Linked DNA regions of Homo sapiens: all the other regions are linked to region 1. Evidence: promoter capture Hi-C in 16 types of primary human blood cells and fetal thymus (Javierre and others, 2016). All regions are on one chromosome and are shown on one strand. The core of a region is centred on a gene start or on the middle of the fragment in contact, and the rest is flanking DNA. Distances in the headings are between cores, read along the strand shown. Region 1 holds the start of FLJ13224 (a long non-coding RNA gene). Region 2 overlaps FGD4 (FYVE, RhoGEF and PH domain containing 4). Region 3 overlaps FGD4 (FYVE, RhoGEF and PH domain containing 4). Region 4 overlaps FGD4 (FYVE, RhoGEF and PH domain containing 4). Region 5 overlaps FGD4 (FYVE, RhoGEF and PH domain containing 4). Region 6 overlaps FGD4 (FYVE, RhoGEF and PH domain containing 4). Region 7 overlaps FGD4 (FYVE, RhoGEF and PH domain containing 4).

The links. The method cuts DNA at HindIII sites, captures the fragments that hold promoters and counts their contacts. A CHiCAGO score of 5 or more calls a contact.
Region 2: a fragment that was not itself captured here is called in contact with the fragment with the promoter of FLJ13224 in region 1 in 1 of 17 cell types (M2 macrophages); the score reaches 5.1 in M2 macrophages.
Region 3: a fragment that was not itself captured here is called in contact with the fragment with the promoter of FLJ13224 in region 1 in 1 of 17 cell types (monocytes); the score reaches 6.9 in monocytes.
Region 4: a contact is called between a fragment that was not itself captured here and the fragment with the promoter of FLJ13224 in region 1, in 1 of 17 cell types (neutrophils). The highest score is 5.5, in neutrophils.
Region 5: a contact is called between a fragment that was not itself captured here and the fragment with the promoter of FLJ13224 in region 1, in 1 of 17 cell types (monocytes). The highest score is 5.1, in monocytes.
Region 6: a contact is called between a fragment that was not itself captured here and the fragment with the promoter of FLJ13224 in region 1, in 1 of 17 cell types (monocytes). The highest score is 6.4, in monocytes.
Region 7: a contact is called between a fragment that was not itself captured here and the fragment with the promoter of FLJ13224 in region 1, in 1 of 17 cell types (monocytes). The highest score is 5.6, in monocytes.

Annotation. Positions count from the first base shown.
Region 1 is chr12:31,322,873-31,325,930 of GRCh38, reverse strand. It overlaps FLJ13224 (a long non-coding RNA gene), which reads right to left and starts at 1,615. Exons shown (of 1, transcript NR_026806.1): 1 at 1-1,615. All of the region lies in intron 1 of SINHCAF (SIN3-HDAC complex associated factor), which reads left to right. RefSeq lists an enhancer at 1-692. The HindIII fragment of the contact is 3,270 bases long and covers 1-2,497 here.
Region 2 is chr12:32,643,145-32,646,202 of GRCh38, reverse strand. FGD4 (FYVE, RhoGEF and PH domain containing 4) reads right to left here. Exons shown (of 17, transcript NM_001370298.3): 17 at 153-3,058. Among named protein-coding and RNA genes, the nearest start is that of DNM1L, 35 kb to the left of the region's middle. The HindIII fragment of the contact is 2,915 bases long and covers 147-3,058 here.
Region 3 is chr12:32,587,520-32,590,577 of GRCh38, reverse strand. All of the region lies in intron 4 of FGD4 (FYVE, RhoGEF and PH domain containing 4), which reads right to left. Among named protein-coding and RNA genes, the nearest start is that of DNM1L, 90 kb to the left of the region's middle. The HindIII fragment of the contact is 1,833 bases long and covers 623-2,455 here.
Region 4 is chr12:32,545,491-32,548,548 of GRCh38, reverse strand. The region is part of intron 1 of FGD4 (FYVE, RhoGEF and PH domain containing 4); the gene reads right to left. Among named protein-coding and RNA genes, the nearest start is that of DNM1L, 130 kb to the left of the region's middle. The HindIII fragment of the contact is 4,271 bases long and covers 1-3,058 here.
Region 5 is chr12:32,519,332-32,522,389 of GRCh38, reverse strand. The region is part of intron 1 of FGD4 (FYVE, RhoGEF and PH domain containing 4); the gene reads right to left. Among named protein-coding and RNA genes, the nearest start is that of FGD4, 120 kb to the right of the region's middle. The HindIII fragment of the contact is 7,816 bases long and covers 1-3,058 here.
Region 6 is chr12:32,483,950-32,487,007 of GRCh38, reverse strand. All of the region lies in intron 1 of FGD4 (FYVE, RhoGEF and PH domain containing 4), which reads right to left. Among named protein-coding and RNA genes, the nearest start is that of FGD4, 86 kb to the right of the region's middle. The HindIII fragment of the contact is 5,006 bases long and covers 1-3,058 here.
Region 7 is chr12:32,447,642-32,450,699 of GRCh38, reverse strand. All of the region lies in intron 1 of FGD4 (FYVE, RhoGEF and PH domain containing 4), which reads right to left. Among named protein-coding and RNA genes, the nearest start is that of FGD4, 50 kb to the right of the region's middle. The HindIII fragment of the contact is 3,961 bases long and covers 1-3,058 here.

The DNA.
Region 1 (3,058 bases), core at 366-2,865:
CCCCCCGTCCTTCCACATACACACAGGAAGTTTTGTCTTGGAGGTGGCATTGTTGGGAGCGCTGTTTTCGTGATCTTCAGACCCCAGGTTCTTTGGTACGCTCGTGTTTAGTGTGTATTTATTAATTGGGGAGGGTATTTGAGGCAAACCGAAAGTCTCGGGGCGGGGAAGTGAGTGGAGCCTGGGCATAATTGAGGAGTCGCCGGAGTTGAGGGATCCACGTTGAAGGTGACAATGACTTTTCTCCGCCGCAGTGTTCTCTCGCGGAAAGGAGCCCGGCGGCCGAAAGGCCCGAGAGGAAAGCGACTCGTTGGCCACCGCGCAGCGGCCGGGGTCGGTGCGTCCGCGTGGGCGCGAGGCGCGGGCAGGGTCGGGCGCCGTTGTGAAACCTCGTGGTTTAGTTGACTGCAGCCCTCGGACTAGGGTGGACAATAAACGCCATTCGCTCGGAAACTAAGTTGCCATCCGCTTCCGAGCTGGCGGCCGAGGGTCTTTAAATCGGCCTTTGGGGGTCAGTGCTGGGCTCTGCCGGAGCGCACGCGGCGTGGCGTTGTTTGCTCAACTCCGGAGGGATGCGGATGCGACAATGAGAGCAACACGCGGTCGCTTAAAAACAGCCCGTCTTCCACTCGCCTGCCCTCTTCGGACCGCGCCCAAGAGCCTCTGGTGTCCGGGGTGCTTTCGGAGCCCGAAGTTTTGCTCCCGGTGCGTTCACCTGTAGCGTAGGTGTGGGCGACACCGCGAGGGCTTCCCGTTTATGGGCGGCCGTCCGCGCTGTAAGATGGCCAGGGAAGCCAACTTGGCTGGAGATGGAGGCGGCGGCGTTGTGTACGCCGCGGGAGTCAGTGAACTCCGCAGGGCACTGCTTTTTGTGCTCTACGTGACAGACCACGTGCTTCGGGCTGCGACCCTGGTCCTTGTCCGAATGTCCAGCCCCGCGTGAGCCGTGGGATGCGGCCGCCGTCGGGCAGGTCCGGCCGGCAGGACAATGTGGTTTGCTGATGATGGCGTCTTGCCAGTTTAAAAAGCAGAGTGAAAGTCGCCAACTCTCCGCCCGTGCGGGGCGGATACTCCGGGCGTTTCTCATCAAGGACACTGCAAAACTTTGATTAAATGGGCCTGCTCCCGAGGGGAGGGTCGGGGGGCCAGGCTCCGGACTCTTCGGGGCGCGGGGTCCGGACCCCTACCCAGGGTGATCGTCCAGTGTCCGGCCCCTGCGAAACGCTCCGACATCCCTGATGCTGCACGTAGGCAGCGCCCGGCTGGACAGAAAACAAAGGGCTGCATGTGCCCGTGCGGGCCCCCGGCGCTCGGGGCCGCCGCCTGGGCGTAGGGCCGTGCAGGTCGGAGGCCCTCGAAGTTCGGGCGAGTTTCGGGAGGGGCTTTTGTCCCTCAGCCCCCTCGTGGGGAAACTTTGGCGGCGCTACTTGTGCGAGGTGCCATGCTGGTGCGTAGGGAGGCGGCGTGCTTCCCCGCTCCGGGCGTGCGGGCGGGCGACCGAGGGAGGCGGCAGTGCCCGGCGCTTCAGCCCTGGCGTCGGGGGTTGCGACGGCCGAGGGTTCCGGGGAGCTTGGCCCGGACTGCTCGGCCGGTTTCTCGTGGCCCGGGAGCCTGTGTCTGGGAGGTCTGTGGGTTCGCCTTTGAAGTCGAACTGTTGCCATGTTTGAATTACGTCAGGGCAAAGCCATGAGGAGGAACAAGCCCCGGCAGCGCGGCGTGCGGGAGGCGCGGCCTGCGGGAGGCGCCGGGCCGGGCTGGCGCGGGGCCCGTTGTTCCGGCGCAGGTGAGGGAGGTGGCGGCGAGCGACGCGGTTCACCTCCCGCTGCCCTCGCCCTCGCCCCGGCGAGCGGCCCCCGCAGGAACTTTCCTCCCGACGCGAGATGTCTTATTTACCAACAAATCCACCAGGGAGCATTCTTACTTGCTGGCTCGGCGTCTCTCTCGGCAGTCACCGGAGTGCCCGAGGGGGAAGCACGATTTACGGAAGGTGGGGACCCGAGGGCCCTGGGAGGAGCGGGGAGGCATTTTACTGCTTTCAGAGAAACGGGTGAGGGCGGCGAGCACCTCCTCCCCAGCCGAGCTGTGGCCCGCAAGTCCAGGGGACCCAGCCCCGACGACGCCCGATAAACCACCGTGGGGAAGTTCCGGGGCTCCCTGTTGCCCTACTAAGGGAAGTGAGGACTGTGGGCGAATTGTGCGTGCGGCCAGTTTCTTTGTGTGTTTCTAGGGGGTGGGGGGAGCGGGGAAGGGCAAGGTTTGTTTTGGTGTAGGGGGAGTTGGTTTCTTGAGGTGGTAGGGCGGTGCAGTTTGTTCTGGTAACTATGACCCTAGTCAGTTTCTTTGTTTTTATTTTCTTCCTGTAACCTTCCATTACTTCAGGCACTCGGAAGATTAGGATTTACTCTTGAGTTAAACAGGGACCCTATCCGAGACAGTTTTACCCCAGCAATTCTTTCTCCCCCTTCTTAAGTTGTCCTAAGGAGGGTTAAGAAAAGCTTTTCTTTTTCTTTTAATAATTTAAAAATGAATTTGACCTTGTTATTCAGAGTACGCTGAAAGCACCTGTTTTTGAACTGGAATTTGCCAGACTTGAAAAGCCTTTTAAAATTTTATGTCGCAAAATTGAACACATTTAGTTGCCCAATCTAAAAGTCTGGGAGTTTGTTTCTGGTGGAGTTTCGGAGAAAACCCTCATGGCATTTAAAGTATTTATATAATGATTTTGGGAAGGGGGATCTTTTTTAGGCGAAAGGTATGCGTGACTCAGTGTTTGGTGGTTATTCAGTGCCTTAGGATGACCTTGAAGAAGCAAATGTTTAGGGAGTTGGGCCTTTTGGAAACATTGTAAGGAGGCTGGGGAGCTGGCTGGGGAGGAAGCTGCTCAGGAAGATGACACAGGGTAACGGCTAGCTTCTTCCCAGATCCCGTGAACTGTGGTTGACCTTCTGGTTACCTCTCCTAGATTTTTCTTTTCAAGCTAACCTTTTCTTTTTTTGTATGTGGCCCCAGGCATAGCTCAAAAATTATGCTGGTTTGACACATGGATGCTTCTTTGGTA
Region 2 (3,058 bases), core at 355-2,854, 1.3 Mb before region 1:
TTCTTGAAAGACTTACACTTTTTTTTTTTTTTTTTTGGCAGAGGGTAGGTTGGAGGTAGGAGTATCAGTACCTTACTGGAGTAACTTTCCTGAGCAGAACTGAAATCACTGTGAACTGAACATGAGCTGAAATAACATGTAAAGCTTTGGAATTAATTTAAGGATGTGTTTATTTACAAGATACAAATGTTTAATATTTAATAGGAATTAAAGTGCTTAATTTTACAATGTTTCCAATTATCTGCTTTTATGACCAAATATACATATATTACACAATATATACATTATCTGCAAGTATTTTACATTCACATAGCTAGAAAAGAAAAATTACTTGTGTATACTTTCACACTTGAGTCAACTGTAAAATTCCAAAAACATACATTCTCAAACTTATCAGTCAAGAATTCAAAAGAAAAATCCAGATACGCTTATTTTATTTTTTGAGTCGAAGTCTTGCTCTGTCACCCAGGCCGGAGTGCAGTGGTGCAATCTCGGCTCACTGCAACCTCTGTCTCCCGGGTTCAAGCAATTCTCCTGCCTCAACCTCCCGAGTAGCTGGGATTACAGGCATGTGCCACCACACCTGGCTAATTTTTGTAGAGACAGGGTTTTGCCATGTTGGCCAGGCTGGTCTCGAACTCCTCGGCCTCCCAAAGTGCTGGGATTACAGGCATGGGCTACCGTGCCTGGCCCAGATACACTTATTTTGTTTTATTTTTATTTAGTAGAGACAGGGTTTCACCATGTTGGCCAGGCTGGTCTCAAACTCCTGACCTGAAGTGATCTGCCCACCTCGGCCTCCCAAGGGCTGGGATTACAGGCATGAGCCACTATGCCCGGCCTATGCTTATTTTAAAATGTCAATTGTCACTCACAAAATGAAATGCTAGTTTGGTTAAAAAAAAAAAAGTCTTATATACAGACAGACATGACTGTTTTGCTAATGAAGAGAACCCCCCACAAGTGATACATTCCAATATCCATATACTGTGTAATATATAATGTGATTCTCTTATAATGGTCCCCACAGACTAGTTTCTTCCCAAACCTATATGTCACTATGTATTTGGTATTTATTTATTAAAGTATGATATGAGATTTCTTGATTTACGTTTTCCACTAAAACTACCACAATGAATTTTGGGAAAAGGGGTTGACCATCATATAACTCCCGGTGACCCCAACAAGTTAAAACTATCTTGTAGAAGCCATGTGCTATTTCATGTCAAAATACAGGAAAAGATACTGCATTCTGCCAAATGCTCAGTCCAGAAAGTAGAAGACCATGATTGACTTCAGATTTTTTTTTTTTTTGCCTCAGTAAACAGTACAGAAAATGATCTGAGAATGAAATTATTTTTTAAAAGCCCAAAGGAGAAAAAGAATAACAAGATATCATAGTCTAGCATTTACAGGCCAAGGTCAAAAACCTGGGTGCAATGGATCCCATCAGCATGTAATTACATAGATTTTATATCCCTTCTGCAGTTAAAATATTTCATCTTATCTTAAAACACATTGCTGTGGTCTGGAGACCAGCAGTCTCTCCCCCACATCTCTCTTCATTCTTGCTTGTTTCAGTTTCTTATCTTATTCCTCTCTGCCCTTTCTGTAAAGAAAGCAAAGTTATCTTCTCATGACTACGTGATTAAGGGGTATATATAAGGATGAATTATACATAAAGATCCATGTAAATAATTTATGTTAAAATATTTAAGTTAAACAATTTCGATAGAAAAAGTTCATTTCTATGGAAAGACAGAATTGCAAATCAACAGTGTTTTTACATATATACATACATGTATAAATTCACAGAAAGGGTTTTTTAAGTTGACCTAGTGGTCTTTATGTATCATAGTCATTTTCTAAAGCTGAGAATCTATAGTAGATAATAGTATGCAAATAACAAGAAGTTTGATTCTAATAAAATTGGTAAGAATGAAGAAGCAACATGATCCACTACAGATGTCAATACAGTCTGAAGAATAGGAACTGGTTGGCCACAGTTCATATACTAATACATTCTTGGAGAATACAAAATTTAAGAATGAAAACATTAAGACATTCTTGACTTTTGAGTTAATTTTAGCTTATAAATATCATGTGCTTAATCTTAGACCCACTAACACAAATATCATATGATATAGGAAATCTTCATTAATCTATTCTGCATTATAGCAAAGATACCTATAAAACCCAAGACGCTTGTTCCCTAGAAGTTTACTTGCTCCGGTTGGTGCTTGCTACTCAGGTTGTATCTAGTCCAGAAAGATCATCAGAAATTTATCACAGACAATATGCTCAGATTAAGAACTTAAGGCTTTGAATATAACCAGAAAACAAATAAAAGCAACCACCCTGTTTCCAAAAAGTAAGGACAAGGAAAAGTAAAACAGAATTGTGAACTCAAAAGTATTTTTGACAAAAGTTTTTAGAAGGCATCAAAGAATCTTTAACAACCCTGCAGTACCACAAACTTTATCGTTTTCTTTATATATTTATAACTAGAACAAGTGTTCTTAAAAAAAAAAAATCCAAACGTGTGCGTATATATATATGGGGAAAGGGTACATTTAAAAGGTTAGTTTCTGTAAAAAGTTTAATAATTTTTAAAAAAATTGGGGTAAGTTAAGTCACCTAGTGAAGATAAGTACACAAACCTGATGTCAAATTAAACTTCAGGGAAAACAAAATGTGCTTTTTCTATCCATTTTCTTTGTTAAAGTAAAAATGTTCTTGATAGTTATTTAAAATCCAAGGAATGATGCCCCTTCCCATTTCCCTTCCTTATACTCTGCAATTCGAATTACCGTATCACATCTAGAAAGTTAATAATTATCTATATTCTTGTGGGAAGGGGCCTTCATATTAAATTTTCAGTATAAAACCATACCCTAAAGAGTTTTATTGCTTGCATACATGATGACACTGTGATGCCATTATTACAAAAGTGGCTGGTGTTTTTTATTGAGCCCCACTTAAAACCAAGATAAAAGTCTGCACTATATTTCATACTTAACACGCCAAATGGTAGGCTTTCAGCAAAAGCAAAATTTAA
Region 3 (3,058 bases), core at 290-2,789, 1.3 Mb before region 1:
TGCTCTGCTACAGCCTTTTGCATGAGGAGAAATCCCTCTGGATTTGGGGAACAAGAAAACCAGGAGGTAGAGGAATAAAACACAGGTTTCATGGTCAAATAAGATCATGTCATAAATGCCATCAAAAGGGTCATGAGGTCTCAAGAACTATTTGTTAACAGTAGGGAATTTATCACTAGGCTCACATTATTAAAAAGAGAGAGAGAGAGAGAACACCCACTTATGATATGCATATATCATTCCTTGCTTTTTTTTTTTTTTTTTTTTTAGATGAAGTCTCACTCTTGTCCCCCAGGCTGGAGTGCGATGGCGCGATCTCGGCTCACTGCAAACTCTGCCTCTCGGGTTCAAGTGATTCTCCTGCCTCAGCACCCACTGAGTAGCTGGGATTATAGGCGCCTGCCACCATACCCAGCTAATTTTTGTATTTTTAGTAGAGACGAGGTTTCACCATGTTGGCCAGGCTGGTCTAGAACTCCTGACCTCAGGTGATCCACCTGTCTCGGCCTCCCAAAGTGCTGGGATTTCAGGCATAAGCCACCGCGCCCGGCATTCCTTGCTTTATAATATAGTGTCATAAGCATCAACAGGCTGTCAGCTCGGCATGATCCTTCAAGAAGCTTCAAGAAGTAGTCCAGGCCTACTTGTGACTTACCACCAATATTTTCCCAAACTTAGGTCTTCCACACTATCCAATTCAAAACTTGAAATAAGAGGGGAGAACAATGAGTGAGAGTTAATGGCACAATCTCAGCTCACTGCAACCTCTGCCTCCTGGGTTCAAGGAGAGTTAAAAGTGAGAGCTTTTAATCTGAAGGTTTCAATTACGTTCTTTCGTGACATGGGGAGGAGGGGGAAACAGAGGTTGCACAAAGAAAAAAAGTTTGGTTACTTGCACAAGATCAGACAGGAAGTAAGTGGTGGTGAAGAGAGAACAACTTTGGTCTTCTTATAATCTATGTAGTGTAAGTTACACTAAAGAGTCCTTTGAGTTTTATAGAAATTAAAGAACAGGCACCAAGAAAAACTGAATATGTATACACATTAAATAACTGAATTAACCTGTCTAAAGACTTAGTCATCAAAGTATCTCAGTCATTTATAAACGCTTTATGTTAATTCTGTTAAGTCAGAACCTTGTATACACTAATGAGAGTACATCATGTGGTAATAACCAACAGTCCTCAGGCAGGAGAAACAAAATACAGGAACCCTAAGTTAAAAAAGAGGTGGTATGCAAACTTCTCTGTGTATCCTACAGTGGGAGAACCGAAAGAGAGGTGCTGGTATTAACCTGGCAGAATGTGTTGAAATTTGGATCTATTAAATGACATATTAGGCTTTGAGTCTATTGATCTTGATTCACAAGTGAGGAAACAGGATGTTTAATTAATAAACACATAGCTTTTATATGCCAAGGCACTGTTCTAAAGTACTTTACAACTAGTACATGATCTATACCTCATAATGTTACAAGGTAGATATGTTATCTCCATTTTACAGATGAGGAAACTGAGGCACAGGGAGGTTGAAGTAATCTGCTCAAGGTCACAGAGCTAGTAAGTAGCTGAGTGGGATTCAAATCTAGAGGACCTGGCTCTTGAGTCTGTGTTCCTGACCACTAGGTTAGGTATCTGGCTTTTTAATTTGTTTTTAACCCCATATAAAGCAAGATTTTAGCTTTCCATTTCTCTCACACTCAACTAAACTGGGTCTTTCTACACGCTGTGACCTCTAAGCACCTGATCTTTCCCAATTCTCCTGGTTCAACTCAACGTTCTGTTAAACCCCATCCTTTGTTCTCTTGGCACTGCTGACTTGCTGATCCTGGCTAATTCCCACTCCAAGTTTGCTTTTTCTCTTTCTTGAATTCCAGGCCACTCAGCAATGCTGGGAAGACTTCTGATTGGCTCTATAGTCTTTGCCCGATGCTCTCAGAATCATGGTCACTGTTGCCACAACAGCACCTTCTCCAAGCTCCAAGTCTTGCACCTGGAGGACTTCTTGCTGGTCTTGGCAGAGGACTGCCCAAATCGACACTTCAATCACCAAGCCTGCAAGCTACCTCCGTGCTGTGGTCCCTCAGTCCGTCCTAGATTCTCCATGACTTCTCCGTTTCTGCTAACAACAGTGAATTCACACTAATAGCCATGATGTAAACCTTAGCTTTATCAGTGAGGCCTTTTCCCTTTACTTCAGGATATCTTGAGTAATGGTCATTTGTTGTCTTAACTCTCCATCTCAACTGTAAGTTTCTTCTTTGTATTTACTGCGGTGCCTTGCCCATAGCCTATGTGCAATATACATTTGCTCAACTTTGTTCAATTACTCAAGTTCACCAAGTTATATACTAGTATACAGCTAGTTAGCTATCAAGGCCTACTAAAGGCTAGGTCTCCAAGTTAACTCCTAGTTCCATATTCTAAATGCTGACCATGCTTTTTTCCTTAAAGCTTTCCAATATGCCTGCACCCCTACCCCATTCCCCTCCATCCCTGTGGTTCCAAAACACTGTTCTCTCTTCTTTCTCCTCTTGGACAATTTATTAAACATCCTTTTCTATTGTTTGTGCTTCATGGCTCAACTCTTGGCCCATTTCCTGTTCCTACACATTCTGCTTTGGCAATGTTAATCACACCCTCATGCACCATCCTCTTAACATTCTTACCCTCTTTCCTGGGCTCTGGATCCACAGTTCCACTTGCTTAATTAATATCTCCAAATGGATGTTTTGCAGGAACCATAAACTTAGTATAAGAGTACAAAACTAACCTAATTAGCAACTCTACTTCCTTCTCTCAAACCCACACCATTACTTTCCTTCCTGTCATCTCAATGATTTCAACATGTCAGGAAGCCATGGCCTGGAGAGTTTGTTAAAGTGATGTGTCTGGCCAGGCACAGTGGCTCACACCTGTCAGCACTTTGGGAGGCTGAGGCGGGTGGATCACTTGAGCTCAGGAGTTCAAGACCAGCCTGGGCAACATGGTGAAAACCTATCTCTACAAAAAATACAAAAATTAGCCAGGCGTGATGGTGCATGCCTGTAGTCCCAGGT
Region 4 (3,058 bases), core at 249-2,748, 1.2 Mb before region 1:
CCTTGAAGTGATTATAAAATAAATCTGCATGCTGCTTTAAGTACAGGAAGCAAGTATCATAATAATTACCAATACAGAGAATAGTAATATGGAAATGCAGAATAATGCATGCAGTTTTATTTCATTGAGACAAGTATCATAAGATCTCAGAATACAAAAGCAAATTTCTGGCCTGTAGTTCTAAGTAGCGAAAAGATATATTAGCCCTTTGCTTTGTTACCTCCTTGTGGGTTTAAACTCTAAGATCGGACAAAACACTTCATTTGATAAGAAACTTGACTTCACATTGAAGATCTATAATCCAACCACCCCCTCACACATGGATGCCGCAACAGGGTACTAGCGTATGCTCCCTGGAAAAAATCGTTTTCAAAATGGCCTTTTCTCAACTGATTTGTTCTCTGGACACCAAGTCAACTCTGTAAATGCAAGGTAACATATAGCTTCAGGAAGGGATACACCGATGCTGAGACATGTCCTTCAGTAGCATACTAAAAAATATTTATCCTGAATGTCACAAAAATATTAACAATCATAACTTGAGGCCGGGTGCAGTGGCTCATCCCTGTAATCCTAGCACTTTGGGAGGCCGAGGCAGGTGGATCACTTGAGGTCAGCAGTTTGAGACCAGTCTGGCCAACATGGTAAAACCCCGTCTCTACTAAAAAATAAAAATTAGCTGGGTGTGGTGGCGGGTACCTATAATCAGAGCTACTCAGGAGGCTGAAGCAGGAGAATCGCTTGAACCCGGGAGGCGGAGATTGTAGTGAGCAGAGACTGCACCACTGCACTCCAGCCTGGGCAACAAAGTGAGACTCCGTCTTAAAAAAGACTTGGGATTTCATAGTGCTTTAAAACTAATGCAAACTTGCTTTTAAATACTACTGCTATTCTTACTACTGTTAGTAATAATGGTAGAAATCATATCTAATAATATTGAGTGTTTATTGTGAGGCAAGCACACATTGTGCAAAGCACCTTATATGCATTATTTCATTTACTCCACTCAAGAATACTATGATGTAAAGTATAGCAGGCATTTTTATGTCCATTATACAGATGATTAAGAGGTGGTAAGTGGTTAGGCTGGGGTGTGTGTGTATGTGTGTGTATTTTTTGTTTTTACATGCAGACAGGCTGGAATATAGTGGCATGACCATATCTCACTGCAACCTCAAACTCCTGGGCTCAAGTGATCCTCTCACCTCAGCCTCCCAAGGAGGTGGGACTACAGGTGTATGCCACCACACTCAGCTATTTTTTTTTTCATTTTTGTAGAGACTGAGTCTCATCATCTTGCCCAGGCTGGTCTCAAACTCCTGAACTCTAGTGATCCTCCTGCCTTGGCCTCCCAAAGTGCTGGAATTACAGATCTGAGCCACCGTGCCCAGCCTTGCCTGATGTTGAATGTCATATCTACATGTGGTTTGTAAGCAATTTGTGGACACAGATTCTAGCTATTGATTCTTTGGCTTTCACTGAGCAGGTACACAAGTCACTGCAGCTATTTGCCCTAATTCTGTGCCTTTATTAGGCAAGATTATGCAGCTAGGAGCTTCAAAATACCCAGGGCATCAAACAAATCAATTTAAGAAATATAAGGTAAGAGGAACATGAGTCTTGATTTAGGATAACTCAATAGACATCAAGACAGAATTCCAGATTACCTTGCCTGTTTCCAGCTTTGAACCACTTCTCACCACCTCTTCAGCTCTGCACACTCCTGACCTTCTTCTTTTCCTCTTGTTCTGCTCCCCATTTCTGACCTACATTTGCTTCTCAAATCGAGGCTGATGAGGCCTCACCATTGTAGACTCTTCGACATTCTCTTTGGAAACCAGTGGGCACACTCTCATAGACTCACTTTATGCTAGTCAAGTCCTACTTCCCTCCATGCTCTATGGCTGCAGTTTCTGCTAGGCCTGACCCAAACCTCCTCAGGGAGAAGTCAGAAAAGTGCTCACAAGGCACTGTCACATAGACAGCACACCTCATTTCACCTTTGGCATCCCTAAAGAGTGAGACAGATACCTGCACATTATAGGTAAATAAAAGTAGGGTTGGTTAAAAGTGGCAAAGCCACGAGTCACAACAGGGCTTTTAATTCCAAGGTCACTGCTCTTTCCACCACAACTGAGGGCCCTGTTGTCAGGTCAATATGTGTTTTGCATTAGAAGTGGGTTCATGTCTGGGGTGGTGGCTCCTGCCTGTAATCCCAGCTACTTGGAAGGCTGAGGCGGGAGAATGGCTTCAGCCCAGGAGTTTGAGACCAGCCTAAGCAACATACTGAGACTCCATCTCTTTAAAATAATGAGAAGAAGAAAAGAAAAAGAGAAACAGGCTCATAATCTGGAGCTGTACTTCTAATATTTGGGTGGCTGTGGGAACCCATTAGCATTTGTTTAATTTTGCTAAAGAGTCTACTGGCCACACATAAGTACAACAAAGATCTTAGATCCAAATGAACTGAAATAAATATTGTTGTGAGAAACTAACAATATTCACAAAAATAAAGACAGTGTATCATAAAACAGATTTTAAGAAAAACTTTCAGATTTAAAATGAATTCTTAGAATCTGTTCCAGGAAATTAAAATAATTATGAATGCCCTAGAGCAAATTCAGATCTTTAATTCGCTTGAAGAATTCAGCAATTATACCCTGCTACAGACTTCAAGCATTTCCTCTCCAAAGCTGGAATATGTGCCAACTGTTTCCCCTACTGGAAGGGTTAGAAGCAACAGAAAAACGTTAAGAGCTGCATAGATATGAATTCAACAAGCACTCATCTAACACCTTGCAACAGAGGCCACTGTAACAGTACCAGGAAGTAAGGCACCACGTGGGACCAGTAACATCTTCAGCCTACTCTTAAGGAGCCAACTTTCCAATGGGAAGATTAAAACAATCCTCAATCAGGGATCTGCAGCCTACAGGTCACAGGCCAAATCCAGCTTCTGTCAATAAAGTTTTACTAGAATACACATTCATTCATTTACATAATGTGTATGATGCTTTTTACTATGTTAGTAGAGTTGAGTAGTTGCAACAGGGACCAT
Region 5 (3,058 bases), core at 192-2,691, 1.2 Mb before region 1:
CTTGGGCCTTTTGTGTTGGCCCGAATATTCTTAAAGGCCAAATTCAGAATGTGGAAAGAAAAGATACCCTAAATATAACGAGGATCTTCCTGTCTTTTGCAAATCATCCACTCTACGTATCCACCCCCACCCACAACAGATAATGATAATCTTACACATGCAGTTTCTTTTTTAATACAATCTCAGAAGTATATTACAGTAATAATATTCCAAAGAAAAAAGAATATTAGTAGATGCAAATTTAGTCAGCTTTTAAATATCTTTGTAAGTTACTGAATTTGTGGTAGGAAATAAGGTCAAAGATAAAAAGGGAACTAATTTTTTAAAAAACAGCTCATTTCCATCATATGCACGTTTAAATGGGTACTAAATAAATTATAAATTTATTTGCTTGGAATTTTCTAATTATTATTTTGGCAATCTATATATTGTCAACTTTAGTAATCATGTTGAAACAAACAGGTCTTCGGTACTATGCTAAGGATTATAAAATACCTATATAGCCTTTAAGACACAACAGTTCATCAGTAGTGGAACTTAAATAATCTCGTATTAGTAAACAGTTCACTGTTCATGGAGTATGGCTTATCTTCATCCTCTGCACAGGATAGCAGAGGCAAATGTTATTTGCCACAAATGGGTAAGGATTCGAGTTTAAAACAGCAGAAATTAGAGTAACCTATGGCAAACTAGAAAACAATATTTTTTAAAGTAAATGCTAAAACTCAAAAACATTTAAAATCCCTTCTAAAGATGTTGTATTTGTTTATTTACAAAGAATTACTGAGCCCCATATGGGACTCAATATAGTATACAGGACACATTGTTAGGGACTTGGGAATGTTTTTTATAAAGTCCTGCCCATCAGTTCAGCCACACCAGCTTTTTCAGTTCCTGTGACGTTAAGGTCTCTACATATGACTAAGTCTAATTATTCCCTGTGGGTTGTTTCCTTTGAACATTTCTTCACAAACGTAATTAAATATTCATGCAATGTCCTTTTTTTTTTTTTTTTTTGAGACGGAGTCTCGCCGTCGCCAGGCTGGAGTGCAGTGGTGCGATCTTGGCTCACTGTAACCTCCGATTCCCTGGTTCAAGCAATTCTCCTGCCTCAGCCTCCCGAGTAGCTGGAATTAGAGGCATGCCAGCTAATTTTTGTATTTTTAGTAGAGACAGGGTTTTGCCACGTTGGCCAGGATGGTCTCGATCTCCTGACCTCGTGATCCACCCGCCTCGGACTCCCAAAGTGCTGGGATTACAGGTGTGAACCACCGCGCCCAGCCTGCAATGTCCTTTTTTCTAGAGGACAGGGACCCTGTCTGTCCTGTTCATTATTATGGCTCCCATGCACATTGTTTTCAAACACTTTATACAGTCTCATTAAATAGTTCCTTCTCGAGGAACCAAAGGGAGAGCAAACAAGTAAAATAGTAATTGACAAGTTTGGCTGAGGCTCTGTGACTGCTGGAGGTACAGAGCGGAGGGTAAGAGAAGGCTTTCTAGAATACTTTATCTCTAAACTTCTTGAGGGCACATCCCTATCAGAATAAATCCTGGGCATGCATCCCCTAGTATGCATATTCGCACACAATGTAGGTAAGAGTTAGATACAAGCATTCCTGTATTAAGATACACACTTTAAAACACAAAAATAGGCCAGGCGCGGTGGCTCATGCCTGTAATCCCAGCACTTTGGGAGGCCGAGGCGGGTGGATCACGAGGTCAGGAGATCGAGACCATCCTGGCTAACACGGTGAAACCCTATCTCTACTAAAAATACAAAAAAATTAGCCAGGCGTGGTGGTGGGCACCTGTCATCCCAGCTACTCAGGAGGCTGAGGGAGGAGAATGGCGTGAAACCGGGAAGCAGAGCTTGCAGTGAGCCAAGATTGCACCACTGCACTCCAGCCTGGGCGACAGAGCGAGACTCCATCTCTAAAAAAAAAAAACAAAAAACAAAAAAACCCACAATAGAACTTAAAATAGGGCAAGGTAGAGGTAAAAATACTATTGTTAAGAGAACAATGTGACTGAATCTGCTTGTTTTTAAAAAATCTTTTAAGGTAAATGCTAAAACTCAAAAACATTTAAAATCTCTTTAAAGCTCTTGTATTCGTTTATTTAAAAAGAAATTGTAAAATATTTCACAATACAGCAATTTGGAAGAGTAAATCTATCTCAGTTTACTTCCATACTTAGTTTCAATGACTGCCATGAAGAGAGATTCATCGTCCTAAAGGGAAGAAGTCTATCACTGGATGCACTTACTAAGTCACAATACCTATTTTTAAATACCATCTACCAGTTATACAAAGGTTTTTCTCAAAATTATTCTGGCAAATTTCCATCTATAGTAATATCTCAGAAGATATTACATTATTTTTCAAAACTTACTCTAAAACATACTAAAACTATTCAAAGATTTTTTATTTTATTTTATTTTGAGATGGAGTCTTGCTCTGTCACCCAGACTGGAGTGCAGTGGCATGATCTCAGCTCACTGTAGCCTCTGCCTCCTGGGTTCAAGTGATTCTCCTGCTTCAGCCTCCCAAGTAGATGGGACTACAAGTGCACACCACCACGCCCAGCTACTTTTTGTATTTTTTTCTTTTTTAGTAGAAACGGGGTTTCACCATCTTGGCTAGGCTGGTCTCGAACTCCTGACCTCAAGTGATCTGCCTGCCTTGGCCTCCCAAAGTGCTCGGATTACAAGAGTGAGCCACCGTGCCCAGCTTTATTTTTTTATTTTATTTTATTTTTAAGCAGAGGCAAGGTCTTGCTGTGTTGCCCAGGCTGGTCTCAAACTCCTGGCCTCAAGTGATCCTCCTGACTCAGCCTCCCAAAGTGCTGGGAGTTACATGTGTGAGCCAGTGCACCTGGCCGAAGATTTTAAAAGACAGTTAAAAAGATCTGTATGTAAGTTTGAGTGTACTTGCAGAAATAAGTTTTTTAAAAAATAAGATTTTAAAAATAAAAGATACATCCATTGTAGTGATAAAATTACACAATAATGGAACATTTCCAAACAATCATTTCAAAAATGCTCTGTCTATAGTGT
Region 6 (3,058 bases), core at 162-2,661, 1.2 Mb before region 1:
GGGGTCAGAGGGAGAAGTATAATTCAAAATCCATAAACAGTATAGCCTCAGTTTCACAAAACAATAGCTACAAAGAGGAAAAACACCTCAAAATGTTACAGTAGCTTATACTTGGATGTTTATTTTTTTCTCCTTCCTACTGAACAAAAATATTGGTTTAAAATTTAAAATGTTTCTCTGAACAAAAACATCAACCTAAAATGATTTTTCAGTTAAATATAAAAGACTACAAGATCACTTAAGCCACAATGATAGAAGTACCTAGTCAAGTCAACTATACTTCAGATCCCAATAAATCAGATAATGTTATTTCAAGAAATCCTTAAACCTGAGAATTACCAATGTACCTTGCTCATGTTTTAGAAGTAGGGGGAATTTTTATCCCCAAATAATTGATGACCAAGAAAATATTAGGTGCACAAATAAGTTTTAAGAAACTGGCTAAAGTGTAAATCTTAAATATTAGAAATAGAAAGAAGACAAGTGAAAAAAGTAGAAGGAAAGAGGTTATAATAAAAAAGACTGAGATGACAAGGGTCAACAGTGGTTGCACTTACTCACTTCCACTACTCTCAGGAAACACTCTGTGCTATGAACTCACAGGGAGAAATGCCATTCCCTCAAGTAATTGTTCCTGGATCATGAAGATAAGAAAAAGCACACCTTTGTGCTAAAACCACAGCACTGAACTACTCTAAAGAAAATCCACGATAATTTTTCCATCGTGGTACAAATTATTATCACTTAACAGTAAACAAAGAGAAATACCAGTGACCTCATCTATTGTATACTTTGCATAGTGAAAAAATCCAAATGTTTTAACCTGAGATATTTCAGAAATGGCAATTGCAAAACAATACTCACAGCCCCCCATAAAAGATTCTTTTCATAACATCCAGCAATCTTCTGATTAACCTATTTCCTGCTTCTGGAGCAAGGATTTGGATCCATAATTTGTTGGTAGAAACTATAGGCATTCTGTATTTAGACACTAGACACATACACATCTAGTGTTCAACATGATAAAGAACTAACTAATGGGAAGTACAGAGTTCTGTTTCATAAGTCTTCTTCTGGCAGTGATGCAGGCTCAAGGAACTACGCAAGCAACGCATTTCAAAATTCCACGAAGGTGTTTCAAAATGTACTGAGAGAGCTCTAGAATACCGGGGGTGGACTAGGAAGTATGATGCCAAATACATGTAACTTTATTACATTTATGGCATTTAGGCTTATAACAAACTTCCCTTTAAAAATAGGTCTTGGTCAGGCGCAGTGGCTCACACTTGTAATCCCAGCACTCTGGGAGGCCTAGGCGGGTGGGTCACGAGGTCAAGAAATCGAGACCATCCTGGCTAACATGGTGAAACCTCGTCTCTACTGAAAATACAAAAAAAAAATTAGCCAGGCGTGGTGGCAGGCGCCTGTAGTCCCAGCTGCTCGGGAGGCTGAGGCAAGAGAATAGCGTGAACCTGGGAGGCGGAGCTTGCAGTGAGCCCAGATCCCGCCACTGCACTCCAGCCTGGGCAACAGGGCGAGTCTCTGTCTCAAAAAAAAAAAAAAAAAAAAAATTGGTCTTAAAAGATCTGAGGATTCTTTTTGACAGACATCAGAAAATTGTAAGAAATACTGCAAGCAATGCTGAATAGTGAAACTGTGTATAAGCTCTCCATATTCCCAAAAGCAAAAAAGGGCCTTCCATTTTTTTCCAGGAATGGTTATGCGGGTTACCTAGCAATCCCAAGTAATTTCTATATAAAAACAAGTCAGGTTTTTAAAAGAGGAAGGCACTGATTGATAGGCAAATTTCTCATCCTTGTTATGCCTATAAAGTAAAATTATGGATTAAAATGAATGTTTTATGTTTGAGGCCAGAAATTAGAGACCAACCTAGGCAACATGGTGAGACCCCATCTCTACAAAAATAAATTTTAAAAAATTAGCTGGGTGTTATGGCATGTGCCTGTCATCCCAGCTACTCAACAGGCTGAGGCAGGAGGATCACTTGAGCATAGAAGGTTGACGTTACATAGTGAGCTACTATCATACCACCATACCTCAGTCTGGGCGACAGAGTGAGGCGCCATTTCTTAAAAAATAAGATGGGATTTTTTATTTTTATTTTGTTTTTTTTCTGAGACAGAGTATCCCTCTGTCACCCTGGCTGGAGTGTAGTGGTGTGATCTTGGCTCACTGCAACCTCTGCCTCCCAGGTTCAAGCTATTCTCCTGCCTCAGCCTCCCAAGTAGCTTGGATTACAGGTGCCCACCAGCACGTCTGGCTAATTTTTGTATTTTTAGTAGAGGTGGGGTTTCACCATGTTGGCCAGGCTGGTCTTGAACTCCTGACCTCAGGTAATCCACCCACCTCGGCCTCCGAAAATGCTGGGATTACAGGCATGAGTGACTGCACCCAGCCTAAAAAGGGGTATTTTAGTTAATTTATCACATAACAGATGTTTTAAAACACCTAAACATTAATCATGATGTAAATTCAACATTTACATAACACAAATGTCCCTTTTCATGTGATAGTCAGATGTTGTAGTCAGAATCAAACCATAATACCTAGACTCAGCTCAACTTTGTAACATCACTTCTTAAAATTATTATGTTTCTATGTTATATGGAATAGCAAACTAAAAATTGTATGTTACCTTAAAGCACTTTGAGAGTAGGTGAGGACATTTTGATGGGTATAGTAAAACACACACCTGATGCAGCTTATGAACCAACAAGTGGAAGCATGAAGAAAACTACTTGGAGAAATACACACTAACATCATAAAGTCTTAAGACATTTAGAAATCCTCCCATTGCATGGATAAGAAAATTGAGGCCAAGACTGACAAGGCAGTCAAGATAAAGCCATACTATATGAGGCAGACAAGATATGCACACTTCAGAGCTCCCAACGGATTTTTTTTGGTGTAATTTCCAAGGTATTATACATCCAAATAATTAACTCTTTCTTGAACACACCATCATCTAGTATAATACTGTAATGCAGTGGTGATTTTGAGAGCTAGTAACCTACCTCCAACAATCACTTGCTGTCAA
Region 7 (3,058 bases), core at 344-2,843, 1.1 Mb before region 1:
ATTCCCTACCTTTGTTCACCAAGAAAGCCTGAAAGGAGAAACAACCTTTGATCATACTTAGCAGACAGATCTTGGTTTGTATACACCCTTTTCCACTAAGAAACCAGGGCTCTTGGAGAAATCGCTGATTCTAGTAACAGGGTAGGGAAGAACAAGATGAGCCTAGAACATCTTGTGTCAGCTAGACATGCTCAAAGAATTATAAGAACTTGTCAAAAGAGAACAGAAGCCAGCTTGAAAGGGAAGTAAAAGATTATAATTTATTAGGAAATGGTGACTACACACTGATATAAATGAATAAACTTAAAGTGTGATAAAAAAAATAGGTGGCCTGGCATGGTGGCTCATACCTGTAATCCCAGCACTTTGGAAGGCTAAGGCAGGAGGATCTCCTAAATCCGAGAGTTCAAGACCAGCCTGGGCAACATGGCAAGACACTGTCTCCACAAAAATTTAAAAAATAAAAATAGGCCAGGTGCAGTGGCTCATGCCTGTAATCCCAGCAGTTTGGGAGGCTGAGGCAGGCAGATCACGAGGTCAGGAGATCGAGACCAGCCTGGCCAATATGGTGAAACCCCGTCACTACTAAAAATACAAAAATTAGCCAGGCATGGTAGCACGTGCCTGTAATCCCAGCTACTTGGGAGGCTGAGGCAAAAGAATCGCTTGAACCAGGGAGACGGAGGTTGCAGTGAGCTGAGATCGCACCATTGCACTCCAGCCTGGGTGACGGAGCAAGACTCCATCTCAAAAAAATAAAATAAATAAAATAAAAAAAAATAAATAAAAATAAATTAGCTGGGCATAGTGGTACATGCCTGTGGAACCAGCTACTTGGGAGACTAAAGTGAGAAGATCCCTTGAGCCCGGGAGGTCAAGGCAGGAAGTAAGGTGTGATTGCACCACTGCACTTTAGGCTGGGCAACAGAGCCAGACCCTGTCTCAAAAGAAAAGAAAAGAAATGAAACAGTTACATAGTCTTAAAGTTACTTCCCCACAAAATATTACAAAGAAGAAAAGAAATTTCACACTGGAGAAGCCAGGCAGACACCACCTTAATCAAGTGATCAAAGTAACAGCATCAATAATGGGACAAACAGAAATCATAAGTCACCTGATAAGATGCAATTAGAACACAGCATCAGTTCTATGACAGTCCCATCAAAGATGTCTAACCTGAATTCAATCACAAGGAAACCTCAGATAAACCCAAGTTTAAGGACATTCTACAAAACATTTGGCCTTTCACCTCTGGGTCATAAAAGTCAAGGAAAGACTAAGGATCTGTCCCAGGCTATAGGAACCTAAATAGACAGGATACTAAAAGCAATGGGTAATCCTGAAATTGATCCTTTTGCCATGAAGGGCATTATTGGTGCAACTGGTGAAACTTTAAATGGGATCTGGGAATTACATGGTAATAATGGATCAATGTTAACTTCCTGGTTTTGATAGCTATATTACAGCTATGTAGGTGCATGTCCTTGTTTGTTAAGACAAAAAAACAAAGGCACTAAATATACAGAAATGATGGGGCAGTGGGTAACTTACTATTAAATCAATTAGGAAAAAAAAATTTCTGTATATTTGAGATAGTTTTTGAAATTAAAAAATAATATATAGGAACCACATCTCGTGTAATTACCTGACTTTGATATCTCAGTTTCTCAGTCTATAAATGTTAATACTGTCTATCTCTCCAAGAGCATTATGAAGATGATTAAGTTACATAAAAATACAACATTTAGTTCACTTAGTGGAACGAAGGTTTTATTTATTATTTAATGTATTCATGTTCTAACCACACTTTGGAAACAGTCTAATCTGTCTCAGGAGCTGTCTCATGGTTTCTGGTTTTCCCCAGTTTTACCTTGCACTCCCTCCCACACATCCTCTCCTATACTGCAGCCTACAGGAAGTGATGAGGCTGCTCCTGTGTTACCGGACTGCTTCCCTTCTATCTTCTTTCCTTCCCCCTGCTAAACACACATTCCTACCTCAAGTCCAAGCTCAATCACCCCTTTTTCTTTTTTTTTTTTTTGCGATGGAGTTTCATTATTTGTTGCCCAGGCTGGAGTGCCGTGGCGCGATCTCAGCTCACTGCAACCTCTGCTTCCTGGGTTCAAGCAATTCTCCTGCCTTAGCCTCCCAAGTAGCTGGGATTACAGGCATGTGCCACCGCACCTGGCTAATTTTGTATTTTTAGTAGACACAGGGTTTCACCATGTTGGTCAGGCTGCTCTCGAACTCCTGACCTCAGGTGATCCACTCGCCTCAGCCTCCCAAAGTGCTAGGATTACAGGGGTGAGCTACCCGCGCCCAGCCAAGCACCCCTTTTTCTATGAGTCCATATGACTCTGCTCCATTTGCTCAGACAAAAATGATGGCTCCCTTCCCTTCTTTGTACTCCCACTGTACTTTCTACATCTATCCATCCTAATACCTCTAACACCATATTGCACTGTGATCTGCTTCCAGTCATTTTCCCTCTAAGATCATGGCTTACTTGCTGGCATGAACTCAAGCTCATCTTATGAATCAATCAAAGTGAATGAATGAGCAAGTGAGGGCATCCAAGAGGCCATGGTTAACATCTGCAGCATCTGAAGACTTGGGGACAGATCAGACATTCAAATCTATTCTTGCTGAACAGTTCGTCTTGTACCAATGTTCTTTCCTTCTGTAATGGGTAAAGGTTTTAGGGTTTGTTCCTTCCCCAACACAGACACAAAAACAAACAGTGAAAATATACACCTTCTGCCTCTAATAATGACCACAGAAAAAATAGGTGTACTTCTCTCTTACATATATTTCAACCAACAAATATTTGAGTGCCTGCTATGTGTGAAGCACTGTAGTAGATGCTAAGGACTCAAGTGAACAAATCAGACACGGTGTACTGAAGGGAGGGACAGCATTTTTGTTTGTATGTTTCAAACCTTGCCCTATCACGTATTTAACCAAGTTACACTTCTCTAATTTAGGCAAATAACAAAGCAAGTCATTCAGCATAAGTGATCTGACCTGTGTCACTGAGCGAATTTGGATGGCTCAGGAC